Linked DNA regions of Homo sapiens: all the other regions are linked to region 1. Evidence: promoter capture Hi-C in 16 types of primary human blood cells and fetal thymus (Javierre and others, 2016). All regions are on one chromosome and are shown on one strand. The core of a region is centred on a gene start or on the middle of the fragment in contact, and the rest is flanking DNA. Distances in the headings are between cores, read along the strand shown.

Evidence for each region. Contacts are between HindIII fragments. The CHiCAGO score rates a contact against its expected background, and 5 or more counts as called.
Region 2: a fragment that was not itself captured here is called in contact with the fragment with the promoter of MS4A13 in region 1 in 4 of 17 cell types (total B cells, naive B cells, M1 macrophages and 1 more); the score reaches 8.5 in total B cells.
Region 3: a fragment that was not itself captured here is called in contact with the fragment with the promoter of MS4A13 in region 1 in 1 of 17 cell types (total B cells); the score reaches 5.3 in total B cells.

The regions. Positions count from the first base shown.
Region 1 is chr11:60,513,313-60,517,105 of GRCh38, forward strand. MS4A13 (membrane spanning 4-domains A13) reads left to right here and starts at 2,080. Exons shown (of 7, transcript NM_001012417.3): 1 at 2,080-2,295; 2 at 2,657-2,772. The HindIII fragment of the contact is 9,060 bases long and covers 804-3,793 here.
Region 2 is chr11:60,263,538-60,267,330 of GRCh38, forward strand. No RefSeq gene overlaps it. Among named protein-coding and RNA genes, the nearest start is that of MS4A4A, 15 kb to the right of the region's middle. The HindIII fragment of the contact is 168 bases long and covers 1,496-1,663 here.
Region 3 is chr11:60,341,542-60,345,334 of GRCh38, forward strand. It overlaps a transcript of MS4A6E not described here. Among named protein-coding and RNA genes, the nearest start is that of MS4A6E, 16 kb to the left of the region's middle. The HindIII fragment of the contact is 1,767 bases long and covers 1,233-2,999 here.

The sequences.
Region 1 (3,793 bases), core at 830-3,329:
TAAGTTTAAGCTATTAATTAGCATTTTACTAAAGAATAGTATATAAGTGATATAGTAAACATATGAAAACTGAAATCTACTATATATATGTGTGTGTACCAGCATATATATATATACCTACATACATATAGATTATACCTTACATAAATATACATATGTATGGACATTGCATTTCTACAATGAATTCAATTGTTTAGTTTCCCCAGTTTGCATAGATTTCCATTTTACTTTACTAGAACACCCTAGTGTTTACACAGAGGAAACATCTGTTTTCTCTAGTGTATAAATAAATAAAATTCCTCAAAGAAATCTGGACAAGTTATTTTATCAGGGCTCACAGCCAACAGGGTCCTTGTAATAATCCCCAACAATGGTTTTAACAACATTATATAGGCATTGTGGTTCCAGCACATTTTCACTAATGTCTTTTGTATACTGGGAACTAATTCAAGAGAAATTAACAATATGATCCACATGGAGAAATAAAAGTCATATTGGATGTCAAACCATGACTGATTGATTGCCTCTTCATTGCTGAAGAATACAGTTTTTAACAACCAAAGGATAAAAAATTAAAGTGAATTCTGAATTTCCAAATCCAGTTTATAGGTACTGAGAAAATCAATGTTGCTTTTACTGATCTGTGATATTAGCAGAAGAAATAAGATGTACCAAGGAACCATGCCTGTCTCATAGTTTGGCTCACTCTTCTATTTTTGCCTATGTTTATACTGAAAACACATTTTGGCCCCAGTCCAAAAAAATGACCAAATCCATGATAATTTCCAGAGACTGTTGGCCAAAGCTTAAATGAAGAAATATGTCACTTCTCTCACAAATAATCAATCAGTCTTGGCAGCAAGTTACAATAGCGGTCCATCTCATCAGAACTGGCTCTTACTACTATGGATTCTAAAAAATCCATAACCCTGAGGTTGAAGACACAGTTCCTCTTTCTACAGCAAAGAGAATGCTTAATATTATCGGAGCCCTGTCTGCTCATAGACAAGGAACTCACAAAATAATAATAATGCTAGAAACTGAAGTGGTATATTACTTAAGAATAAAACTATTACCTTCAATGACATACTGACCAATACAGAATGTAAAGACTTTAGAAGAGGCTGGGCTTTTTTTTTTTGTTTTTTTTTCCTTTGATTTGAGGGGACTTTGGAGTCTCAATGTAAGGAAGCTAGCTGTGAGACTAAAAATTAAGATTCTCAATTTACAGTTGATTTTTCAGGCTATAAAAGATCTTGATGGCTTTTAGACACACTCATGATTTAGCTTTTTGCAAATAAAGGTGTTGAAAGCATAGAAAATTTCCTTATGAAAGAAAAATCTGTCTTGTTTTCTGCGTGTTTTACTCACTGGCTATCATTGACTAAAAATTTACACTACAAGCTGGAATTTTAACTATTCCACAATGTCAATTTAAATTTTCCATGAATAAATGAGAAATGCCATTGAGTGGCTGTTCTCCAGGTACTTTAAACGCCTCAGTAAGTCATGATAGCTGCCTAAGAGGATGGTCTGTACTGCTCATCTAAAGCACCTCTTCATAAACACTGTTTTAACTACTGTCTACACCTCAAACAGAAAACTAACACCACGTGTCACCTAAAAGGTAAACCCGCCTCAGCAAGTGGATCAAAAAGTCATTCTGGTGTCTTGTTAAGTATTACTTTCATCACTAATTTCCTTCTTCAGTTACTTATGTTTAAAGAAAAAAAAAGTGAGCCATTGATTTAGCCACTTCACTCGAAAGTGCACCTTCCAAAGGTGCTCTTGTGGTCAAAATTTTTCTTTGAAGACAGAAAAGGTGAAGGGCGGACTTCTCCTCAGTGATCCTGGTCACTGTGCAGCAGGTGGGTGTATAAGAAATGCACCAATATGGGCAATCTCAGAATAGAGGTTTGCAGAAACCGTTCCTAGAGGCACCAAAACGTAGTTAACCGGGTGTCTGACCACATGGCTGCCAGGAGCCTAGTGAGTCTGCGCACACGCACTACCTCCGCCCCGGCAGTTCCTGAGTGGGTGCGCAGGCGCAAGAGGAGCACACCGTTGCCATTGCAGACCGTCACTCCCTGAGGAGCCTGAGAGCCGGCCGGGTGCTGGGCTCCTGGCTATCCCTGTGATGGTAGCTCAGCGAGATCTGGGGACCTGGCGCTGAGCGCGTTGCCAGCCGGGATCTTCCTCTTCATCTAGGCCTGGGCGCTGGCGTGAGAACTCGGACTGGGTCCTGGACGAGCGCCCCCCGAAACTCCTTGGAACCTTGAACAAGTAAAATGCAGGGTAGTGATGTCGCTTTGCTGGAGTGCTTTCGTGTCAGAAGCCATAAAGGGACACGGAGGCTGATTACGGTGTTCCTCTCCCTATCATACTCTGTAAACAGTAGGCACTATTTACTACTCAGAGATGATAGCTGTAAAATGCCGATATGTTTTAGTCATAGAGAGAGACTTTTCAGTTATGAAGGCTGTTATTCAGAACAGATGGATGAAAGTTGATGCCTCTAATATTAAGGCCTAGAAAGAAGAAAGAAGGCTATTGCTTCTGAATTTGGAGAGGTGGTGACTGAACAATAAGGAAAGGATCAAACTTACGTATTTTCTTCTAAGAAAATAATGTATATGTGCTTTGTACTGTTTTGTAGAAGTTTGCTAATAAAGACATCACCAAAGGTTAAAGAGAAAATCATCTAGAGGAAATGCTGGCAGTATGGCATGTGTTCTTTAACAAATCTCTACAGCAGATTCTCTCGTTTTAGGGGTAAGATTTCACTTTGACTAACTAAATTTAAGATCATGAACTATTTCATTTTTTTAACGGATATATTGGATCTAAAGGGGGACAGACTTGGTTAAATCAAAAGGGTAAAAGTTTTTTTTTTTTCAAATGTTGATTGTCTTCTACAAATTTTGACTGATCTCATGTTCCTTCATGTGCTGAGATATGGGGATACAGACTAAACCAACACACACAGGATAATAGAGAAATCCAAGTAAGGTTTAAAAGGAAAAAAGAGAGTACTGCACTTACATTTATGCAGTAGGATGATTATAAATTTGTCTCTTCTATTAAGTTATAAACATGTGAAGTTACAGTTTAGCTTTCTTAATGAACACCAAGGAATTATGAGTATCATGCTTTTTCACATCCAAAGGGGAGAAAACATTTCCACTCGTGAACTTTTCTTCTGAATTTGAATGTTGCATAGATCAATTATCTAAGTCGCCTATACGACTGTTCAGCAGAGGTTCTTAACCTCTTTGGGGTCACAGACCATTTTGGCATAGAATGAAAACTCTGAATCTTCTTTCCAGAATTATGTACATGTCACAATCCTTCGCATTTTTTTTCCCTGGGGGCAGGGGGTAGGCGGGTCTGACCTCCTGGAACTCATATTGATTCTAGATTAAGAATCATTTTTAAATAAGAAAACCTATCTTGTCCTTCTCCACACACTGGCAGTTCTTAACAAGCATTGGCTAATTAGCTATCTCATGGTTTTATATAAAACAATAGTCAATCATTTAAAAAGAGATAGTACTTTTCAAGCTCACTTACTTTTTTAACAGTTGGGAAAGTCACATGGAATCACTATTCTTGACACCAGTATGCTTATATAAGAGGTATTTGCTGGATGCCTTCTCTATTCTGGGCACCATATTAGAGGCTGGTGATAAAACAATAAAAAAAAAAAAACTCCAGGCCCTAAGGGATTTTGCAGTCTAGTGGGAGATATTTCTCCAGGCAAATCCAAAGAATTTCTGGAAAATTACCATTCTTG
Region 2 (3,793 bases), core at 330-2,829, 250 kb before region 1:
AGTCCCTGGAAAAGAGGAAGCTGGGACAGGACATGCAACATTGCACTTTTCACAGGATCAGCACCAAGAGCTTGGAGTTCAAGTTCCCAGGTACTTTAGTTCAGTAAGACTATGTGATAGCTGTTATGCGGTCATCTGGGGGCTGGTGGTGAAACTCAAGCCCTGCCGTCTTCTTATTGTGTTTAGTCGGAATGTACAACAATTATGCCCATGAGGCAATTTCATGGCATGGCATTGGTATATTTGCTTCAGGGCTAGAGTGACAGTCAAGTGAGGAAGACTGAAGCCGAAGACTGAACATCAGAGTTATACATCTTGACATCCTTTGTCCTTACTTGTATTTTAAAAACCCAGGCCCAGATAACTCCAACACTCGGTTTCTCCTATATCTGACATTTGGAACCTTGTATTATTAGTTCAGAAGAAGTACTGAAGAGGCCTCAGTGCACAGGCTCGGGACTGATCCTGTAACAAAGGTGATCAGATGACACCCAGGCCCAGCTGGTCTCAGCCAAATGGCTCAGGGTTGACCCTAAATATGGAAAACCAGAGAATCAGGACTATGGCTGCCTACCATGCCCTGAATAACCAGTTATATGGATTGTCATCTGGTAGAAATCCTATGCAGGGGGTGTTAATGTCATCCTTTGTGGAGTCTCTTGGTTGGATCTTCAACCACTTAATATTTTCATCAAGAATTTAGTTGCTGATCCTATTTGCAAATGATCCAAAAACAAGAAGTATAATTTATAAAACGAGAGTGTCCAGATTGAAGATACAACCCAAAAGTCTGGAACATGAGCGTTGGAATACAGATCAAATTTAATCAGGTAAAATTAAAGTCCCAAGCTTATGTTTAAAAACAAATCACCTGCACAAACCTGAGATGGGACTAGAACTTGCTTAACAGAAGTTAATGTGAGAAAGGCCTGGGCCCTTCTACTAGTTAGCTGAAAGGATGGAGACAGAAGCAAAAGACTCTCCAAGAAGTCTGCCTTTGCCTCTAGAGCAATGGATCTCAATCTTGTCTGAGCATTGGGATAACTTGGGAAACTTTAACACGTACTAACACATGAGCCCCATTACCAGGTATTCTGATTTAATTAATATGGATTATGGTTGGAGAGTCAAAATTTTTTGTAGCTCTTTAGCGGATTCTACCGTATAGTCAATGTTGCCAATTACTGCTATAAGCCTGTAGATATCAAACTTGAGTGTGTATCAAAATCTGGAGGGCTTCTTAAAACACAGAATGCACACCGAGACTGTCTGATTCAATAGGTCTGGGGTAGGGTATTTGCATGTCAACCACAATGTCAGGTGATACTGATGCTACTACTCTGGGAACCACATTTTAAGAGCTACTGCTCTAGACGAACCTGGAGTTCTCCAGATGCAACTAAAGGCTTTTTAAATTCTACCGCTGGTATTGAGCCAGAATGCATAGAACCTGGCCCTGTGCCTATCTTCTCTTCTGAGTAGGATTTATTCCATAAGCTTTGGCCTTCTCTTTACATCTTCATATCTGTGTCTGGAGGGTAGGGCCAAGTTGGACTTCGGGATACTAAACTGAGGCCTTTTATTGTAAGGACAGAGAGTAGGATGTGATGTCTTGATGCTGCTTCAGGTTACTAGAGGAGACAATGATCTCAGTTCAGAACCAAGCTTAAAGTTATATATCTCTCGGGGACTATTTGTCCCAGGAATGCAAGCTAGGATTTACTTTTCAATCTTTCCCCAGTTTCTTTCCCAAAAGTAACATATCTTTGGGAAGAAATTAGGGTAAATGAGCAATGGTAAGCTCAAATCCTGGCATCAGGAAAATTCTCCTAGCACTCATGGTATGGCCTGTTCACCACTGACCACAAAGACATGTAGAAGGTGGTGCACAATTTTCAGGAGTCCAGAAATACAAACAGTTCTCTTAATACTTGCTCTGTAGTCTCAATTGTTGTCATCTCTTTCCACACACACATGCATGCACACACACGCACACACATGCACACAGGCAGTTCTTACAATATTGAGATGCTTTGCTTAGACTGGGCTGTATATAAGAGACCTGATTTACATCTTATAAAAATAGAACATCAGAGTTAGAAGAGACGTGGAAATCTTTCTACACTGAAATATGAGAAGTCTGTGGCCCAGGGAAAGAAAGTGATTCACGTGAGTCATGAAGGTAATGAATGTATAACCCAGTTTTTCTGTTTTTCCTATTATCCCCTTCATTTTGACATTGAGGTGTCATATTTAATTGAGCCACAAGAGGGAGGCAGTGGACAAGAAATTGTCCTACCTAATTTGAATTCCTACCTAATCTGGTGTCTTCTGGGAAGACCTTATGAAAAGTCAACTCCCAGCTCTGGTCTTGTATACTAGCGCTGGGTTGGGTCCCATTTCTATCCCATATTCTCTGGGAATCTAGTAGATACAGCAAGTCATCCCTCTGACCCTTAGCTTTTTCATCTGCTAAATTTTGTAGGTATTATTTAGATATTATTACTTATATTGAAAGGTGTTAGTGAGGATACCTGAGAATGAATTTTCAAAACATCACAAGTTGATTTTCAAGATAGTATTAAAGTGCTTTAATTTCAAAGGGTGCTTTTTGTACCATCCTAACTTTATACCACTTTTTTGTCCACTCCCACCCCATTCTCTGCACTCTGGTGAACTGAAAAACATATTTTAGATTTTATCTAATTGTTATTTACTCTACTCTCCTCTCCCTTCTCCTGTCTTTCCCCACATTCTGTAAAATGTGAGCACATGCATGATGGAGGAGGGTGTGGATACAGCTAGAGGGAGAGGTTGAGACTGCACATCTCACCTGGTCTCATATTCTGAAAAATCTGGGTTATAAATGGCACACCAGAGACATTACCATGCCCTCCTCTCTGCTTTTTGGAACATGGATCTTATTGCAGAAGGTGAGGGTTTGGGAAGGCTTCGGGATGAGTGGCCAGGTGGCAACATCTGTGCCTGGCTTCTTCCCTTCTTGGTGGAACAGCCACTGGCCTCTCATAAGGGAAATAACCTGAACCAGCCCGACCCTGAGAGCCTCCCTCATGGTGTTGGACTTATAGATCACACATTAAGGAAATATGTCCATGAGAGATTTTAGGATGACTCATATGGTTTCATGGATCTAGAAGTGACTTTGAAAGTGAATGAACCAACCTAGTAGTTTCTAGTGAAGCTGACTGATGGAAATGAACCAAGCATTTATTTTCCAATGCCATAGAGTGGATCGGTGAAAGCTGGGTGGAGAGAGGATTAAAAGAAGTGAAATAAAGTTAGGACTTCTGAACGTTTCTCTAATACCCATTCCCATCATGGTTGGGCCAGTACCATTTTTGGAGTTTTTGTTTTGTTTCTCTTTCCCTTTATTTTACACAGTATAGAAATTCACTGACTACTCCTCAGATTTTTCCAGTCCTGCCTCCCCAGAGGGACTCACATCCCTTTTCATGGCAGTAACCACCTGGTGTTGCTCGAGCACCTCCTAGGATTCCCACTCGTTACTCAAAATGGATAATAAAGAAATTTTCTCAAACGCAATTTAGGTGAATAAAATTTAATCTAATAATATGTGTGAACTATTCTTCTGAAATAATAATGCTGAGATAATGAGTGGAACCACGCATTTATTTTCTTGAACCTGATAATACAAATCCCTAGCAGTTATCTGGACCAACAAGTGGTAAGAGCAGAGGTCTTGAGGTGAGCACGTTCCATGCTTCTGAGGAAACAGTACGTCTGGAGACACATTGAGACTGGAATAGGGAGA
Region 3 (3,793 bases), core at 866-3,365, 170 kb before region 1:
GACGAATTGTTTGAGTATAACAAACATAAGCCTCACCTTGCTCATGCACACACACGCACACACACACACACACGTGTAAAAAAGTATTTCAATTTTATATGACCTCCATTTCTTTGAAAGATTTTGTCATATTTCCTTGCTCTGACCCTCTGTAGCAGGGGTCATACTTCATACTCACTGTCTCAGATATCCTGATACTCAGAGAGTTTCTCTGCTCTTTTTTTCCAGTCTCAAATGGAACTGTCAGTTTCTTTGATTTTAGCTTTATCTTCAAATCTGTTTCATTAGGTCTTCTCCCTGTCCTTTGCACCCCCCACTGACACACACCATTTCTTTTATTTATTTGCCTATTGTGGACATTCAACTTTTATTGATACTTATTGGATACCAGACACTATGCTTTTAATGCCAGGGCTACCAAAGTGAATAAGATACATGATTTGGCTTCAAGATATTTATAGTCAAATAAGGAAAACAGAGATGACAATGAAGTTAGGGATTTCGCTAACTGTTATTTGAGCACAGAATAAAGACACTAACTGTTATTTGAGCACAGAATAAAGAATATCATCTTCTGCCTAAAAGAATGTAGAGGATAAACAAGTGTGTGTGTGTGTGTGTGTGTGTGTGTGTGTGTGAGAGAGAGAGAGAGAGAGAGAGGGGGGGGGAGAGAAAGACAGAAAAGACAGAATGTACTTCCTTTGAAAATCCACCTCCCCACTATTAATCACATGGTGCCACCTTCCGCCACAGGAGAGGACCATTGAAGCATTGTCATTTGTCTGGGGTAATATCAGAGGTTCATTGTCTCATGCCAAGAAAATTGAAGACATGGACACACAAAGAGTGAATTTAAGAGCAGAAGTTTAATGGCTAAAAGAAAGAAGAGTGCTTCCTCATGCAGAGGAAGGGATCCCGAATGGATTTCTGGGTTTGGGGCAAGATGAGGCTGGTTTTATAGATGAGTCTGAGGAGGTCGTGTCTGATTTACATCAGGCATAGTAGATTGGTTGGACCAGATGTGCCATTTACATAGCATGGGAAGTGCTGGCCATCCCACACTAATCTTTTATTATGCAGATGGGGTCTCCACCTGGCCGGCACCATATTGCCTGCTTTTTTGCTGCACACATGGTGACAAAGAAAAGGGAAGAGGGAACCTCCATGCTTAATATATCTAGCTTCCAGGTATCCCTTTTCTATTGGCACAACTGCTGGCATTCACCTTTGCAAGCTTCCAGCTTGCTTATCTATTCTTGCAGCTGGATTTTTCAGGCTTCTTTTGCTAGACAAGAAATGATTTGGGGGCTGCTTTTTAATAAAAAGAAAATCTTACTGAGAACTCCCTTACCCTCACTAGCTACTTAAATAATTTCTTTTTAGCTCCTGTGTTATTTCTCCCCTCAGAAGTAGTAACCCTAACTGCTGTTAGAGGGTGTTGGACAGTGACTCTTTCTGACTACTTCCTGCTGAAAAGGGGCATCTAGTGGGGACAGCAGCTAGGGCTCCTCCTGAGTTCAATCTAACGGTCCTCAGAAGAAAGGCGTGTCCGTGTGTGGTTCTGCCTGCAGCACCATTTAAAGTTTGCTTCTAGGCCAAAAGAGATAAATTTTACAAGAAGGTTTAGAATACAGGGTTTGAATATGAGTATTAAGATTACCATTATTAGTGGGGGTACCATAGGCCATAACCATGCCAGTGGAGTTTGATACCTGTTAGCCATTTTAATGGCTTGTAATACTAGTTTGCCTCCACCAGGTGTCGCTTACTTTACTAGACGCGTTAATATAAAAGGAACCTTTTTTTTGCATAAGTGTCCCCCAATTATTAATTCTACTATAAAGATTATAATTAGACAGAATATTACAGCAATTAGAATTTTCCAACCGGAATTCCATATTGCAGGTGCCACAATGTATAGTTGTGTTGCAAATAGTAGAGCGCATGTATCAATTCCCGGAAAGGTGGTGTAGTAGATAATTTACGTCTAAAACTTTTACTCGCCAAGATGTAGAATTTCTCCTTGGGGTTCTATGAAGTTACAAATGTAATCCCATGTATAATTAAAATCTCCCTGCAAATATGTGTTAAAAAGAAGTGCTAATATCTGGCTGCGAATCTCGAGAGGAAATGTTGAAATGACAAAAAGTATCTGGTGAGTTAAAGGTGGGACTGAGTAAGATGGGTAGCCCTTACTTACTTACTTATCTTTTATGATTTTCAGCTTAAGATCTCCTATTTTTTGTCATTGATGTCCAGGACGTTCTTCTGGGCTGTCAGAGGTTGCTCTCTCAGCTTTCCAGGCTTTGACTGGAGTGTGATGTATGCAGGAATTAATACCTGTAACTTTTACTGCTGAGGGGGTTGAAAGAACAGTGTAGGGCCCTTCCCAGCTTGGGGTCAGGAAGAGAGAGAGAAGGGAGAGCTTTCACCAATACCAAATCTCCTGGGTTAAATAAAGGTGATCCTATTTCTTGGAGTTGGGCTTTTGCTAACTGTGTTAATTCCTGCTGGAAGTGAGCCAGAGAGGTTACATGCTCAACCAACTCAGAGATTTCTTAATTTAATAGAAAATCATTGGTAAGGAAAGACCATCCATACAGCATTTTAAAAGGGCTCACTTTGTCTGCCATTGTCACTTTGGAGGTATTTAAGTAGACCACAGCGGGGAGTTATTTCATTAACTAACACTTTATTACCTCAGATGCCTTTTCTGTATGGCATGAAAATGCTTCTAACCAGTTGGCGAAAGTATCTGTCCCTACCAGGAGATATTGGATGCCCTTCATCTTTGGCATGTGGGTGAAGTCTGTCTGCCAGTCCTCCCCTGGATAGCTTCCTATTCTTTGGGTTTGAGGAGGAAGGAGCCACCTGTTCAGGGGATTATTTTTAAGACAGATTTCACAAGCATTAACAACCTGTTTGGCTGTTTTTGGTAAGTTCTCTCCTGAAAACAATCTCTGGGCACATTGATGAGTTTTATCCTTTCCCAAGTGAAAAGCTTGATGGAGGATTTTAAGGACTTTCCATTGGCTAGAGACTGGCAAGTAGAGTTTGCCATCCTGACTGTAGCCATCCTGAGAGCTGGAAAATATACACTTGAGAAGTGGCCCATTCTATTTCTGCAGGGAAGTACTGAGGTTTAATTTCTTTATGGAACCTTCCCAGATTAGAGGGGCTTGAAGTCCATAGATGTCTTGAGGCTTCCTTGCTGCTGACTTAGCTGCCTGATCAGCTAACCTATTTCCTTCAGCTACTTCATCTTTTCCCTTTTGATGTCCCTTACAGTGTAGCACTGTTATCTTTCATGGAAGGAAAACTGAGGATGATAACCTGCTAATTTCCTGGTGGTTTTTGTTTGTTTGTTTTGTTTTTTTTGTTTGTTTTTTTGTTTTTTGTTTTTTGTTTTTTTGAGACAGAGTCTCACTCTGTGGCCCAGGCTGGTTGCAGTGGCACAATCTCGGCTCACTGCAAGCTCCACCTCCTGGGTTCACGCCATTCTCCTGCCTCAGCCTCCCGAGTAGCTGGGACTACAGGTGTGCGCCACCACACCAGGCTAATTTTTTGTATTTTTAGTAGAGATGGGGTTTCACCGTGTTAGCCAGGATGTTCTCGATCTCCTGATCTTGTGATCCACCCGCCTCGGCCTCCCAAAGTGCTGGGATTACAGGCTTGAGCCACCGCGCCCTGCCCCTGGTGGTATTTTATAGGAGATCCATTAGCAGTAAGAAAGTGTCTTTCCTTCCAAATGGCACCATGAGCATGGAGAACTAAGAAAGTATACTTGGAGTGT